Linked DNA regions of Homo sapiens: region 1 is linked to region 2. The links are contacts of gene promoters, found by promoter capture Hi-C in blood cells and fetal thymus (Javierre and others, 2016). All regions are on one chromosome and are shown on one strand. The core of a region is centred on a gene start or on the middle of the fragment in contact, and the rest is flanking DNA. Distances in the headings are between cores, read along the strand shown. Region 1 has its middle 19 kb from the start of LINC02771. Region 2 holds the start of NSL1 (NSL1 component of MIS12 kinetochore complex).

What was found. Contacts are between HindIII fragments. The CHiCAGO score rates a contact against its expected background, and 5 or more counts as called.
Region 1: a contact is called between a fragment that was not itself captured here and the fragment with the promoter of NSL1 in region 2, in 1 of 17 cell types (monocytes). The highest score is 7.6, in monocytes.

Annotation. Positions count from the first base shown.
Region 1 is chr1:212,488,826-212,495,912 of GRCh38, forward strand. No RefSeq gene overlaps it. Among named protein-coding and RNA genes, the nearest start is that of LINC02771, 19 kb to the left of the region's middle. The HindIII fragment of the contact is 2,387 bases long and covers 4,512-6,898 here.
Region 2 is chr1:212,790,250-212,797,401 of GRCh38, forward strand. It overlaps NSL1 (NSL1 component of MIS12 kinetochore complex), which reads right to left and starts at 1,528. Exons shown (of 6, transcript NM_015471.4): 1 at 1,281-1,528. The coding sequence starts at 1,514. It overlaps TATDN3 (TatD DNase domain containing 3), which reads left to right and starts at 1,645. Exons shown (of 10, transcript NM_001042552.3): 1 at 1,645-1,738; 2 at 4,846-4,878; 3 at 6,268-6,341; 4 at 6,863-6,947. The coding sequence starts at 1,673. RefSeq lists enhancers at 201-979, 1,454-1,733, 3,868-4,368, 4,247-4,316, 4,657-4,706. The HindIII fragment of the contact is 10,286 bases long and covers 904-7,152 here.

The sequences.
Region 1 (7,087 bases), core at 4,455-6,954, 300 kb before region 2:
TCTGTAAGTCATGTGATGGAACACAAAGCTGTAGCCACAGAGCAAAGATTGAGAGCAAGCATTACTTAGCAGAATCTGGCTCTGCTGGGATGCTGGCCTGCTTTTTGCTTTGGCTGGAAAGTCAGCTCCACTGCAATTTCAGCCACTCTCCTTCCAGGAAAGAAGCTCTCTATGAAAGGGTTTTATCAGAGGCACCAGCTCTAGAATTTCTTTAGCAAAAATCCTGAACTCAACACCAGTCTTCCCTACTGAGCTGCTGTCTCCTTGTGTGGGCTTGGCCTCCACGTCTGCCCCCAGGGAGAGGCAGGCAGCCTGAGCCAGCCACTCCTTCATCCCAGACCAGAGTGGCCCACATGGAGGCTTTAATGATTACTGGTTTAAGCCAAGGGAAGGGTATGGATTTTTGCAGACAAAGCATTCTGCTCAGAAAATGCCTGGTAGCAAGTTGAGAATTTTAGGAAGCAGAAAGGTAAAGAGGCATCGCGATGGGAGCAGGCTGTAGCCTACACCATTCTCTTGCCCTCATTCTTCCAGACTCCCACTCTTTGCAAAATAGCTGTTGACCACCTGGAATCCTGGCACTGGGCCCAATGATGTGGGCAGTTCATAAGTGGACAACCAGGTCACTGTCCTCAAGGGGCTTTTGTTCTACTCAGGAAAATAAAACTGCCACAGCCCAATGCAATAACAAGCAATAGAGAACAGCATGCAATCTACCATAACACCGGAGCAGAAATGCCACACAGGGGGAAAAGCACAGATGTTCCCAATGCAACTGAATTCTAGCCCAGCCACTCACTAGCAGCTGTGCGACTTTGGGCAAGTTGCTCAAACTCTCTGAGCCTCAGTCTACACATCTCTGAAATGGAGATAAAAATGCCTACCTCACAGGGCTGTTGTGAAAAATGAAATAATGGCTGCAAAACAGCTGGTCAAATGCCTGGCACATAGCAAGTACTTAGGAAATCATTATAGTCCCCTTAATTCCTTTTAGGGCCAAGATGTGCTATCAATAGATGAATCATTTATATCTGATCTCTAACCTCGGAGCAAATTAGAAGCAATAAAGTGAAAGTACTAGAAGGGCAGCTCAAAAGCAGCAAGGAAAACTCACACATGAAAGCCTAGTGGTGAGGGAATGCCTGGAAACAAGTATAAAAGTAGATGCAAAGACAAAGTAACACCTGGGGACTACCTAGTTGGGCAGCAAACAGCCACAACCTCCAAGGCCATCATCACATTACAAGACAGCAGAATAGATGATGTTTGTAACAAATATGTTCAATAACCTCTAAGATGCCAGGGATGCGTGTAGCATATTTTAAAAGTATTTTCATCCAAAATATGTAACATGTACAAAATTCTCTTAAAAGTGTGTGTGGATACTGTCCAGAAAATTCCTCTGCCACAATTTCCAAGTGGATGCATTAGCTGGGTTTTTTTTTCTACTTCTCTACTTCTCTTGTATTTGACAGAGAGCTTAGAGTCATGCTGAGCACATCAGGAGGGCTTAACAAATCCCTGTTTACTAATGAATCCGTACAGCACTGGAATATGGTTTGTTCTGTTTTCCATTTTCAACCATTGTATGCATTAACTGATTGAGGTCAAGGATGGGCTCCAGCTTCTCTTTGAAATAGCTGATATCTCCAGGCTCCCCTGGCACCCCCACTGACCTGTTCCTCTTTCCATATTCCGGATTTTAGTTAATGGGGCATCATCTACCAGAGAGCAAAATGTTAACAACAAAGATAATAGCTACATTAGTCAAATTAGTGTGTCACCTGTTCTAAGCACTTGCTAGGATTCTGGCTGTCTGTGTATGTCACCTCACAGGGTAGGATTAGTTATTTAGGTTTTTAGATTCAGAAGGTGACAGTCAGAGAGGTTAACTTACTTTGTACATCACCCATCTGTTCGCATCTGACCCCAACTCGCTCTGCTTGCAGTCCCAGGGTCCTGTTGTTCATGGGGGTGGTGGTGGGGAGTGCTTGGCCACAGCTACTGCCCAGGGATCCCCACCCCTCCCGCTGTCCCCCTTACATTCTCTAACCCCCTGAGCTGCCAAGTCTGGGGTGAAACTCAAGGCCCTAGGCTTTGTGACATGCCTGTGGGGTTAGGCGATTTTCCACTTGCTGAGGCTGAAGATGACCCCGAGAGCAGGAGTGTGGCACCTCACCCAAGGTGAGGATGTCCCCAGGATTCAGAAGAGCCTGGCCACACTCCTTACCTGTCTGGCCTCTGCCCGGCTCCTGGCTGGTGTCAGCCACTGCTGGCTGCTGCCCGAGGGCAGAGGGTGCTGGTCCTGAGCAGAGATGCCCCCTGTTCACCAGTCCTGGCCTCCCAGCCTGGGGTATGCCTCCCACCCCCTGCCTTGCCCTGCTTCCGGGGTCTCCAACAGAAGGCTCTCAACTCCCCCCGCCCCACGACCAAAATGTCTCCTTCCATTTTCCACTTCATTTTTGACTTTCATTTTTTAAACGTAAAAAAGACTAAATCCTTTTGGGAATTATCCCATGAGTAAATAAGATCTCTCTGTGTTCACAAATTCCTGCTTTGAGCAATTGGAGACTGCTCTTCCTTTCCCTTCTGAGGCCTAAAGCCCATCAGTGGTCCTGGAAATACAAGGTGAGCTTCCCTGTCTTGGAATCCTTATCCTTCCCCTCTACATACACAGATTGGAATGGGGAGGTGAGCCCAGCAGAGAAAAGGAAGTCTGCTGGGTTTTGGAATTGGAAGCTGGACTCTGCCATTTACTTGCCGTGTGACCCTGAGTGAGTGGAGAGCTCTAGGTTTTGTTTTCCTTATATCCGAAATGGGAACTGAAACTGTTCCCTCACATGTGAGTTTAACAGAAGGAGCCTCCCCTCCCCCACCTATCCAGCATGCAATAAAGTTCTTGGTATGCGCTAAATTCTTGTCTGAATTCTACTGATGCCCATGTCTTCCACGAAGTCTTCCAGATTATCCCAACTGTGGTAGACAGCTAACTAACTACCCTGTATCTACTTCCTCCACTTCTTCACTAACAGAATCCCAATGTTGCTTTGGGGAGCAATGTGTCCAGCTAACAAACTTCCCAGGCTTCCTGGCATTCAGGGGCTCATGGGTCACAGGTAAGGCCAATGAGATGAAAATGGAAGCATCTGGGGATGACTTCCGAGAAAGCCCTTTAAAGGAGGCTGACTCCACGGATGTGTGCTCTGCTGCCTCTTACCCTCTTTTCTCTTTTATTCTATGGGATGAGAATATGATGTCTGGAGCCACAGTGGCCATGTCACGACCATATGGCAACCTTGAAGATGGAAGTCACATCACATCCTAAGTATGGCAGAGCAAAAGGGTAGAAGGAGCCTGGGAAACTGAGGTGTGGCGAGGAGCTGCAACGCAAGCTCTGGTCCACCAGACTCCAGGGATTATGTGACATGAGGAAAGAAGAAACCAGTCCTGCTGGGCTATTGGCTGGTGTTCAGCACCTGGCAAGGTGGCTAGAACTTGTGAGGCTCTCAGTACATTTGATGTTAACTGGCAGGTACCAAGGGAGCAAGATGAGAAAGGAGATGGAGGAGGCTGGAAGGCTGTTCAGATTTGATCAAATGTCCCACAGTTTATCCTATAGATACATTACCTGCACATAACATTATGTGTGGGTGAGTTTATTCACTGCAGTATTAGATGCAATAGCAAAAAACTAGAACCAGCCTAAATGTCCATCAATGGGACATTGTTTAAATACATTATGGTTCATCCATACATTGAAATATTATATTTTTGTACAGTTCTTGAGCTAAGCATGGTTTTTACATTTTTAAATGTTTAAGGGAAAATTAAGAATAATATTTATTTATTTATACATATATTTTTGAGACGGAGTGTCACTCTGTCACCCAGACTGGACATTGCAGTGGCTATCGGCTCCCTGCAACCTCTGCCTCCCGGGTTCAAGGGATTCTCATGTCTCAGTCTCCCCAAGTAGCTGCGAATACAGGTGTGTGCCACCACACCCAGCTAATTTTTGTATTTTTAGTACAGATGGGGTTTCACCATGTTGGCCAGGCTGGTCTGGAATTCCTGACCTCAGGTGATCCACCTGCCTTGGCCTCCCAAAGTGCTAGCATTACAGGCGTGAGCCACTGCACCTGGCCAAGAATAATATTTTGTGATATATGAAAATTACATGAAATTCAAATTTCAGTGTCCATAAAAAAATTTCACAGGAACACAGCCACATTCATTAGTTTAGGTATCATCTGTGGCTGCTTTTGTACTACCATGCAGTATTGAAAAGTTGTGAGAGGAGGCCTATGGCTCTCAAAGCTGAACGTATTTTCTACCTGGCTCTTTACAGAAACCATTTGTAAGGCCTTATGCAGACATCTCTGGAAAGCTGCAGGAGAAACTAACCACAGCTGGAAAGTGAGTGTCCACAGGATAGGGTCAAAAAGGAGACTTCTTACAGCATAACTTTTGTATGTTTTGAATTTTGAATCGTGAATGTTTAACCTACTGTAAGCTTACTTTGAAATCTATTTATTTATTTTTAATTTTTTTAATTAAAAAAATAGAGATGGGTTCTTGCTATGTTGCCCAGGCTGCTCTCAAACTCCTGGCCTCAAGCGATCCTTCTGCCTCAGTCTCCCAAATTCCTGGGATTATAGCTGTGAGCCACAGCATCCAGCCCTTAATTTGAAATTTAAAAAGAAAAAAAGAAAAAGGGCCCCATTTCCCCTCTGGGACTGAAGGAAGAGGAAGAAGAGATGGAAGAAGGGGTGGCTAACTTAGTGCTGGTCTGGGTGAGGTCATGGGCCTACAGTGGAGAGGCTGCAAGGTGATCCCAGACTTGCCCTCAGCCTTGTGCTTGCTACGTGACCCAGGACATTCCCCTTCCCTGTGGGCAAGTGGTCAGTGCTGCCCATGTGCCTAGAGGCCCTGGCCCAGAAAGGGGCCAGAAGATTGGCCTCCATCTCTCTGCCTGCAGGGGAAACAAGAGAAATGGACACGTACACCCGGACTGTGGCCTCATCAGTAGCTGATAAACAAGAAGCAGAGTGGATTGGGAATGTGGAATGGTGAGAAGGACATGGACACTGGATTTTAGTTCTGCTTAGCCACCAACTGTCCCTGTGACCTTAGATTGGCCATTTTCCCTTCAGGGCCCAGCTCTATCCCTGCCAACTGGGGCCTTGACCAGAATGATGGTCCTGCAACTGCCATTCCTCTACCCCTTCCACCCACTCCCTTCTGTTTAGCCTATTGGGCATCCACTCAAGACTTCACAGAGGCCCTGGATTGAGAAAATGACAACATACAAGTCAAAACAATAGCCGGTGTGCTAAATAATCTGTAGGACACATGGTTCTGCCACTCCATAGCTCTGAGAGCCTCCCCTGGTACAAGTTCTTCAGGCAGAGAAGTCCAGGAAACACCCTTCAGACACAGGCAGAGCAGTGGGGACACCACAGCCCTGGATGATATCCAGTCTGGCAAAGCAATGGCAGGCAGGAGGTGGCGGGAGGGGTTCATGGACATGGTGGAGGGCTTCTCATGAGCAAACCCAGGTGGATGCACTAACACCCTGAGTGCTGGGAATTCATGGCTGCAGCTCCAGAAGATCCTTGAGGAAGTCCTGCTGGCGGCGAAGCCCACACGGACATGGCGTTCTGTGGAGGTCTGTCCATCTGAGCAAGGTGTGTGGCTGCATCCTCCTGGCCCTCATAGTGAGGACCAGCCAGCTCAGAGGACAGCCAACATCCTCAGAGGGTGCTAGCTATGTCCTCAAGGCTCCCTCAGGCCTGGAAGCCTTTCCTCTCCCTCTTCTCTATCAAGCCCCCATGCCTTGTTCATGACCCTGCTCAAAACTTTCCTCTTGAACCCACGAGCTAACTTGAAGGGGCTGCTGATGGCCGAAAATGAGATAGTTGGAGCCACAAAATAAATAATGATCACAATAGATTATAACTTACAGCATTTAAGGATAAAACAAGAAGTAATGAGTCTATACCAATAGAGGTAAATATTCGAATAAGCAAATAAACAGGCAAGAAGGGAGAGTTCTTCCTTAAAGCAGCATTATAATTAGTAGGAATTAGAAGGCATGATGGAAATAGAAAACACTTGGCAAACACTTACCATTATAGTTGTGTTAAGCAAGAATCATCAATGGAAACAAACACTCATGAGCGAAAATGTAGAGAAACAAGATGCTTACATTATCTCAAAGCGCCTTCCCATAAGATGGTTAGTAATTGCAAAGAGAAAAGTAGTCACTTTATAGTAGGAAAAATGTGGCAGACTCCACCTTAACCAGGTGATCAGAGTTAACATAATAAATAATAGAACATATCAACCTCATGTACCATCTGATATAATGTACCAAGAAAGGCACAACATAAACTTATGTGGTGCTCTTAAAAAATTTGGCTGAGCGTGGTGGCTCATGCCTGTAATATCAGCACTTTGGGAGGCTGAGGCAGGAGGATCGTTTGAGTCCAGAAGTTTGAGATCAGCCTGGGCAACATAGGGAGACCTTGTCTCTATAAATAATTTAAAAATTAGCCGTAGCGTGCTGTGGAGTGTGCCTGTAGTCCCAGCTGCTCAGGAGGCTGAAGTGGGAGGATCACCTGAACCTGGGAGGCGGACGTTGCAGTGAGCCAAGATCGTGCCACTGCACTGCAGCCGGGGTGACAGAGTGAGACCCTGTCTCAAAATAAATAAGTAAATAAATAAGTAAAGAAAAACATAAATAATAAATAAATAATTCACAACCTGAGGAAATACCAGCTAAACCCAAATTGAAGGACATCCTACAAAATAAGTGTCTAGTATTCTTCAAATGTTTGAAGGTCATGAAAGTGTAAGTGTAAGCTGAGGAACTATCCCAGACTAGAGGAAACAAGGAAGCTTGGCAACAAATGCTCTATGTGATCCTGGATCGGCTCCTGGTCAGATAAGGACATTTGTGGGGCAATTGACAAAATTTGAATCAGGTTTGTAGTTATGTCAATTTCCTGGTTTTGATGATGCACTGTAAACATGTAAGATGTTAACATTTGGGGAAAGTGGGTGAAGGGTATCGGGAATTTTTTGT
Region 2 (7,152 bases), core at 278-2,777:
ATCTCCTGACCTCGTGATCCGCCCGCCTCGGCCTCCCAAAGTGCTGGGATTACAGGCGTGAGCCACCGCGCCCGACCCCTTTTGCCTGTTTTAGAGTGAAAACATTTTCTTTACAAGACTAAAATAGGTTAAAAAAAATTGTGTTGGTTGAAAACTTTACTAAGATCATACATTTGCCTCTATACCACATTTCCCAAGCCTTTCTTAAATATTTTTGCAAAGCCCTGAAGGTGGTAGTTTTTTGGGAACACAAGAAATAAAGGGATTGTGTGCTTCCTTATAACAGGCACCAATCTACTTATATTAGCGGAAAAAATTTAAAAGCTCATAATACCGCACATTTGTGAGTTATGAATGACCACAGTGCAAACAGTAAAAATAAAGGTTAATAGGCCGGGCGAGGTGGCTCACGCCTGTAATACCAGCACTTTGGGAGCCCAAGGCGGGCGGATCACGAGGTCAGGAGATCGAGACCATGCTGGCTAACACGGTGAAACCCTGTCTCTACTAAAAACACAAAAAAATTAGCCGGGCGTGGTGGCAGGCGCCTGGAGTCCCAGCTACTCAGGAGGCTGAGGCAGGAGAATGGCGTGAACCCAGGAGGCGGAGCTTGCAGTGAGCCGAGATCGCGCCACTGCACTCCAGCCTGGGCGACAGAGCGAGACTCTGTCTCAAAAAAAAAAAATAAAATAAAATAAATAAATAAATAAAACATGCAAAAGGAAAGATCAAATGCTGCTTGGGTGAATGGCTGACTTCCAGAATTACCCTTTCCAGGAGAATTCCTCATTGTCTGCGGCTGCATTGTCCAACAGGTGAGCCACTAGCCACTTTGTAGTTACTGAGCGCTTAAATGTAACTAGTTCGAAGATGTGCCGTAAATGCAGCACACCAGATTTGAAAAGCTTAGTACGAACAAAAGAATGTAAAATATCTCATTCATTTGATATTATTACATGTTAAAATACCTTGGATTTATTGGGTTAAACAAAATGTCTTATTTCCATTAACTTCACCTATTTCTTACTTTTAGTTTAAAACTACATAAAGATTAGCTTGCCTTGTATTTTCACTGGACAGCGCTGGTCTAAGTAATTAATAAGACCCAGCTGACATTAGCATCTATTTCTTTCTCCTCTAGCGTTTCTCGAACTGGTTCTACAGTAGCCTGGGGCACCGTTAATTCTGCCAAGGCCTGGCGTGGGATCTTTCTGAATCCTAAGATCCTGGGTGTTGGGTAAGAGGATGATGAGTAAAGAACTGGCTAACTGGTCCCGTACCCACTGCGCATCTCGCAGAGCGGGCTCCCGAATCTCCTCCGGCAGAGCGTCCCCGAGCTTTTGCACGAAGCGGCCGCACAGTTGTAGCATTTCGGTCACAGCCCGCTTCGAGGTGCAGCGCACCCGAAAGTCTTCTCGGGGAGTGGCGGAGACCAAGGCCTGGCTCTCTGTGCCAGCCGCGAGCTCCTTGTCCCATGGAGGGTCAAGGACCACCAACTCAGGAGACCCCGCCATTTTTCGTCGGAACTGTGGGCGGGGCACTCTGGGAGCGGAAAAGCGGGTTCACACTGGTGTAACCAGCATGCATCCGGCTGGAAACTCAGGACGCTGCAGCTGAAACGTTCCGGCTCCGGCTCTGCTGGCCGGTCTAAAGCGGCAGCCGCCGGGGCGCAATGCGAGCGGCTGGCGTAGGCTTGGTGGACTGTCACTGCCACCTCTCCGCCCCGGACTTTGACCGCGTATGTGAGGGCGATACGGGACCAGAGGGAGCAGGGAGGCCCCCGTCCTTTCCCCTCGTGTTATCTTTGCTCTCCTCCCTTGGGACGAAACCCCATATCCCCCGCCCAGACCCTTGTTTATGGCCATATGACCTTGCCCCTCATTTCCCTATTCCCTATTTAACCTCAGACATACCGATTTTTTTTTCCTGATTCAGTAGCGGTAAGCTATCTCCACAAGGCTTTTGTTTGCTCTTCTGAGTTCCTGGAATCGTTCCCTCACTCCCCTTGGCTGGCCTGTTTTTCCCCTCGGGGCTCTCACCTCCTGGCTGAGATGCCACTCTTTGTGGGAAGCGGTCCTCGAAACGCGTTCAAATCGGGGAGAGGTCGGGCGCGGGCTCACGCCCGTAATCCCAGCACTTTGGGAGGCCGAGGCGGGCGCTGCGCATCTCCTGTGTCCAGGAGATCGTGACCAGCCTGGGCAACATGGTGAAACCTCGTCCCTACAAAAAAAAAAAAAAAGCCGGTGATTGTGGCGTTTGCCTGTGGTCCCAGCTACTCGGGAGGCTGAGGTGGGAGAATCGCTGGAGCCCAGGAGGTGGAGGTTGCAGTGAGCTGACATCAAGCCACTGCACTCCAGCCTGGGTAACAGTGAGACCCTGTCTCAAAAAAAAAAAAAAAAAAAAATTCACAAATGGGGGAGAGAGGCAAACAAACAAACAAAAATACATGGCCGAGTGTGGTTGCTCACACTTGTAATCCTAGCACTATGAGAGGCCGAAGTGGGTGGATCGCTTGAGCCCAGGAGTTTGAGACCAGCCTGGGCAATGTGGTGAGACCCCGTCTCAATTAAAATAATAATACACACGTAAAATCAGTTACAAACTGTTTTACCCATTACGTGGGAAACTAGAGACTAATAATAGAGGATTAAGGGGGGTTTTATTTCAGGGGGAAATCCTCCCAGGAGCTGACACTTAAGGCTGAAAAGACAAGGAGCCACCCAAGCAAGGGGGTGAGTGTATGCTGGTTAGGGAAACAGATAGGTTGCAGGCCCCCAGACAAGCTAGAATTTGGCACATTTCAGTTGCCAAAAAGCTAAGTGGAGCCTGATGAGCTAGAAAGAGAAAGGCATGAAACAAAACTGGGGAGGTTTGCAGGGGATAGATGAGGTGGGTCAGTAAGGAATTTGGATTGCATTTGAAGCACAATGCAGATTCATTAAAGGGCTTTTTTAAAATTTATTTTCATTTTTTTATTTTTTTAGATTGAGTCTGGCTGTGTCCCTCAGGCTGAAATGCAATAGCATGATCTCAGGTCATTGCAACCTCCACCTCCTGGGCTCAAAAAATTCTCCTGTCTCAGCCTCCCAAGTAGCTGGGATCACAGGTGTGTCCCACCACGCCTGGCTAATTTTTTGTATTTTTAATAGAGACAGAGTTTTGCCATGTTGTCCAGGCTGGTCTTGAACTTCTGGCCTCAAGTGATCAACCCTCCTTGGCCTCCCAAAGTCCTGGGATTACACAAAAATGGATAGGCATGATGCTATCCATTTTAACACCATTTTGCTGCTGTATGGCAAATGGGTGGAGGAGAAGAGTGGAAGCTACAAGACTAGTTAGGAGGCTTTTGCAGTATATAGGCAAGAGATGTTGGCTGTTGGTACTATGATGATAGCAGGTGAGTTTGAGATGAATACATGGATTCAAGATACATTTTAGAGAGAGAATCCACAGTAAGTACTGAAGAATTGGATGTGGATAGCAAGGGAAAGGGAGGAGTCAAGGATGACTCAGATTATTAGCTTGTGCTATAGGGAAGATGGTGGTGCTGGTTTACTGAGATAAGGGAAGACCAAGGTCTGAGGTGGAGGTGGGGAGGTCAGCAGAAGGAATAGGTTTGTGGGGAGAAAATAAAGATTTATGTTTGGGGCATATTGGGAAACCTAATCCCATCCAAATGAAGATGTCATAATTTTTAAACATGAGTCATGGGCTCAGGAGAGAATTACAAGCTAAAGATAAAAATTGGGGGCCGGGCGCAGTGGCTCATGCCTGTAATCTCAGCACTTTGGGAGGCCGAGGTGGGCAGATCATAAGGTTAGGAGATCGAGACCATCCTGGCTAACATGGTGAAACCCTGTCGCTACTAAAAGTACAAAAAAATTAGCTGGGCATGGCAGCATGTGCCTGTAGTCCCAGCTACTTGGGAGGCTGAGGCAGGAGAATGGTGTGAACCCGGGAGGCGGAGCTTGCAGTGAGCCGAGATCGTGACACTGCACTCCAGCCTGGGTGACAGAGCGAGACTCCATCTCAAAAAAAAAAAAAAAAATTGGGGACTCAGGCTGGGTTCGATGGCTCACACCTGTAGTCCCAGCACTTTGGGAGGCCAAGGTGGGTGGGTCACCTGAGATCAGGAGTTAAAGACCAGCTTGGCCAACATGGTGAAACACCATCTCTACTAAAAATACAAAATTTAGCTGAGTGTGGTGGCGGTCACCTGTAATCCCAGCTACTCTGGAGGCTGAAGCAGGAGAATCACTTGAACCCGGGTGGCAGAGGTGGCAATGAGCCGAGATCGCACCATTGCACTACAGCTGGGAGACAAGAGTGAAACTTCATCTCAAAAAAAAGAAAAAAAATGGGGGCCTCAGCATAATGATGATAAAACCATGAGAGGAAGTGAAATCACTCAAGGCAAGTGCAGAGAGAGGAGCAGATGTTCTTGAAGTCTGAAAGAGGAAGGGGAGCTAGTCAAGGAGACTGACAAGTAGCCACCAATGAGAGAGTGGTATTGCAGAAGTGAAGGGTGGAAAGCATTTCAAGAAGGAAGGAGTAAGCAAGTGAGGGATTCCGAATGCTGCTGAGGAGTAGAGTAAGATGAGGACAGAGAAATACCCTGTATATTTGACAATAGAGGCTTCTGTTTTAGTGCTGGGAACAGTAGCCAGACTTTACTGATAGTAAGAGTAAACAGGAAGTGGGTCAGTGTAGGCTCTTTGTTTTCCACCACTCCATTAGTTGCTATCATTGTTATTTTTTGTGATGCCACAACTACATTGACATATACAGTCCAAGATTAGCTGCTTATTCATCTAAAATAATGGTGATTTCTTATGCTTGTTTTAGGATTTGGATGATGTGTTGGAGAAAGCCAAGAAGGTAAGTCAATATTTGTAATTGCTCTTTTGGTTTTTTATTTTAACTATCATTTCAAGCCAAAACAGCTTGAAATTTAGATATACTACCTTGATGTTTCAGTAGTTTATAGTAAGTAGCATTTTTTATTTTTATTATTTTATTTATTTATTTATTTATTTATTGAGACAGAGTCTCGCTCTGTCGCCCAGGCTGGAGTGCAGTCGTGTGATCTTAGCTCACTGCAACCTCTGCCTCCAAGGTTCAAGTGATTCTCCTGCCTCAGCCTCCTGAGTAGCTGGGACTATAGGCACACGTCACTGCACCCAGATAATTTTTGTATTTTTAGTAGAGACAGGGTTTCACCATGTTGGCCAGGCTGGTCTTGAACTCCTGACCTGAGGTGATCTGCCCACCTCGACCTCCCAAAGTGCTGAGATTGCAGGCGTGACCCACTACGACCAGCCAATTTTTATTATTTATAATTAAAATAGAGACAAGATCTGACTATATTGCCCAGGCTGGTGTCAAACTTCTGAGCTCAAGCAATCTACCCACCTTGGGCTCCCAAAATGCTGGGATTATAGGCATGCGGCACTGCTCCCAGCCTAAGTAGCATTTATTAAGTGTTTGCTACATGCCAGGTAGTGAGCTAAGGCCTTTCTCGACTTTACCTCATTCAATGTTTCACAATAGCCTTCTGAGGAAATTACTAATTTATAGCCAATCATTCCCCATTTTTATAGATGAGGAATCTAAGGCCTAGAGATGAGTAACTGGTCCAAAGACACATGCTAGTGAACTGATAGAGACAAGTTAGTCTGAATTCAAAACATGTTCCTATAGCTACCATGCTCAACAGCCCTATGGAACAAATTGGTCCATCTTTCAGTTTTTAAATTCATGTGGTTCTGGAGATCTGGGATATATTATTAAAGTTTTCTGAGATGTTTTGATTTGCTTAGAAAAATTATTTTTTTGGAAGTGTTTATGAAATTCATTGTAACTAGCATTTTGTGGCCATCTCAAAAAATGATACAGCCAGAAATGGTTGTAGTGCATTTTTACATACAGGTAACTTTCACTGTGGCAGCTTAATTAGGAATGTGGGCTTTGGACATATATAGACCTGATGACCTTGGGCAAGTTATTCGACATCCAAAACTCTGTCTCCTGATCTATACAGTAGACTATAGCCTACTTTATAGGTTTCTGTAAATTAAATGAGGCAATATTTATATTCACTGAACATAAGGTCTGAAACATAGTAAATACTCAATGATAGCCCTTCTGATTGTATTGATGAAGCATGGCTGAACAAGGATAACTAAAATGCAGAGAAAACTTTAAAATTTTCTATAATTTATATTAAATGTATATTGTTTGTAACTTTATTCTTTTTTTTTTTTTCAGGCCAATGTTGTGGCCCTTGTGGCAGTTGCCGAACATTCAGGAGAATTTGAAAAGATTATGCAACTTTCAGAAAGGTGCTACTTTTAATTAAGATTTTAAAGGGTTGCTAATAAGAACACAGTTATGACATCCAGTTTATAATATCAAAGATCCATTTTTAAAGAGAATAAAGAGGAAAAAGCATTTTAACATAGCCCTAAAGAGATTATTTTCTACTTATTCCTTTTTTTTTTCTTTGAGAGATGGAGTCTTGCTCTGTCACCCAAGCTGGAGTGCAGTGGCGCAATGTTGGCTCACTGCAACCTCTGCCTCCTGGTTTCAAGCAATTCTCTGCCTCAGCCTCCCAAGTAGCTGGGTCTAAAGCATGCACCACCAGGCCTGGCTAATTTTTATATTTTTTGTAGATACAGGATTTCACCATGTTGGCCAGGCTGGTCTCAAACTCCTGGCCTTAAGTGATCCACCTGGTTCAGCCTCCCAAAGTGCTGGAATTACAGACATAAGCCACCATGCCCGACCTCTACTTATTCTTTAGAATACGTTGTAATCTACTAGTCTACTGTTCCTGCTTTCTCAGTTGGTTCTACATTTTTAGGTATAATGGGTTTGTCCTGCCATGCTTGGGTGTTCATCCAGTTCAAGGACTTCCACCAGAAGACCAAAGAAGTGTCACACTAAAGGTAACAGTCATACAAAACAGGAACCATTAAAAACAAACAAACGAAAGAATTATTTGACTCAGTAATCCTCCTCTTTCTAATTTATATTCTCAGGAAATAATCCAAAAGAAGGAAACATTACCTTCTTTAACAAAGATGTTTGTTGCAACATTATTCGTAATAGAGAAAAAGTAGAAACAGCCTAGAGGTTCAGAAACAAAGGAAT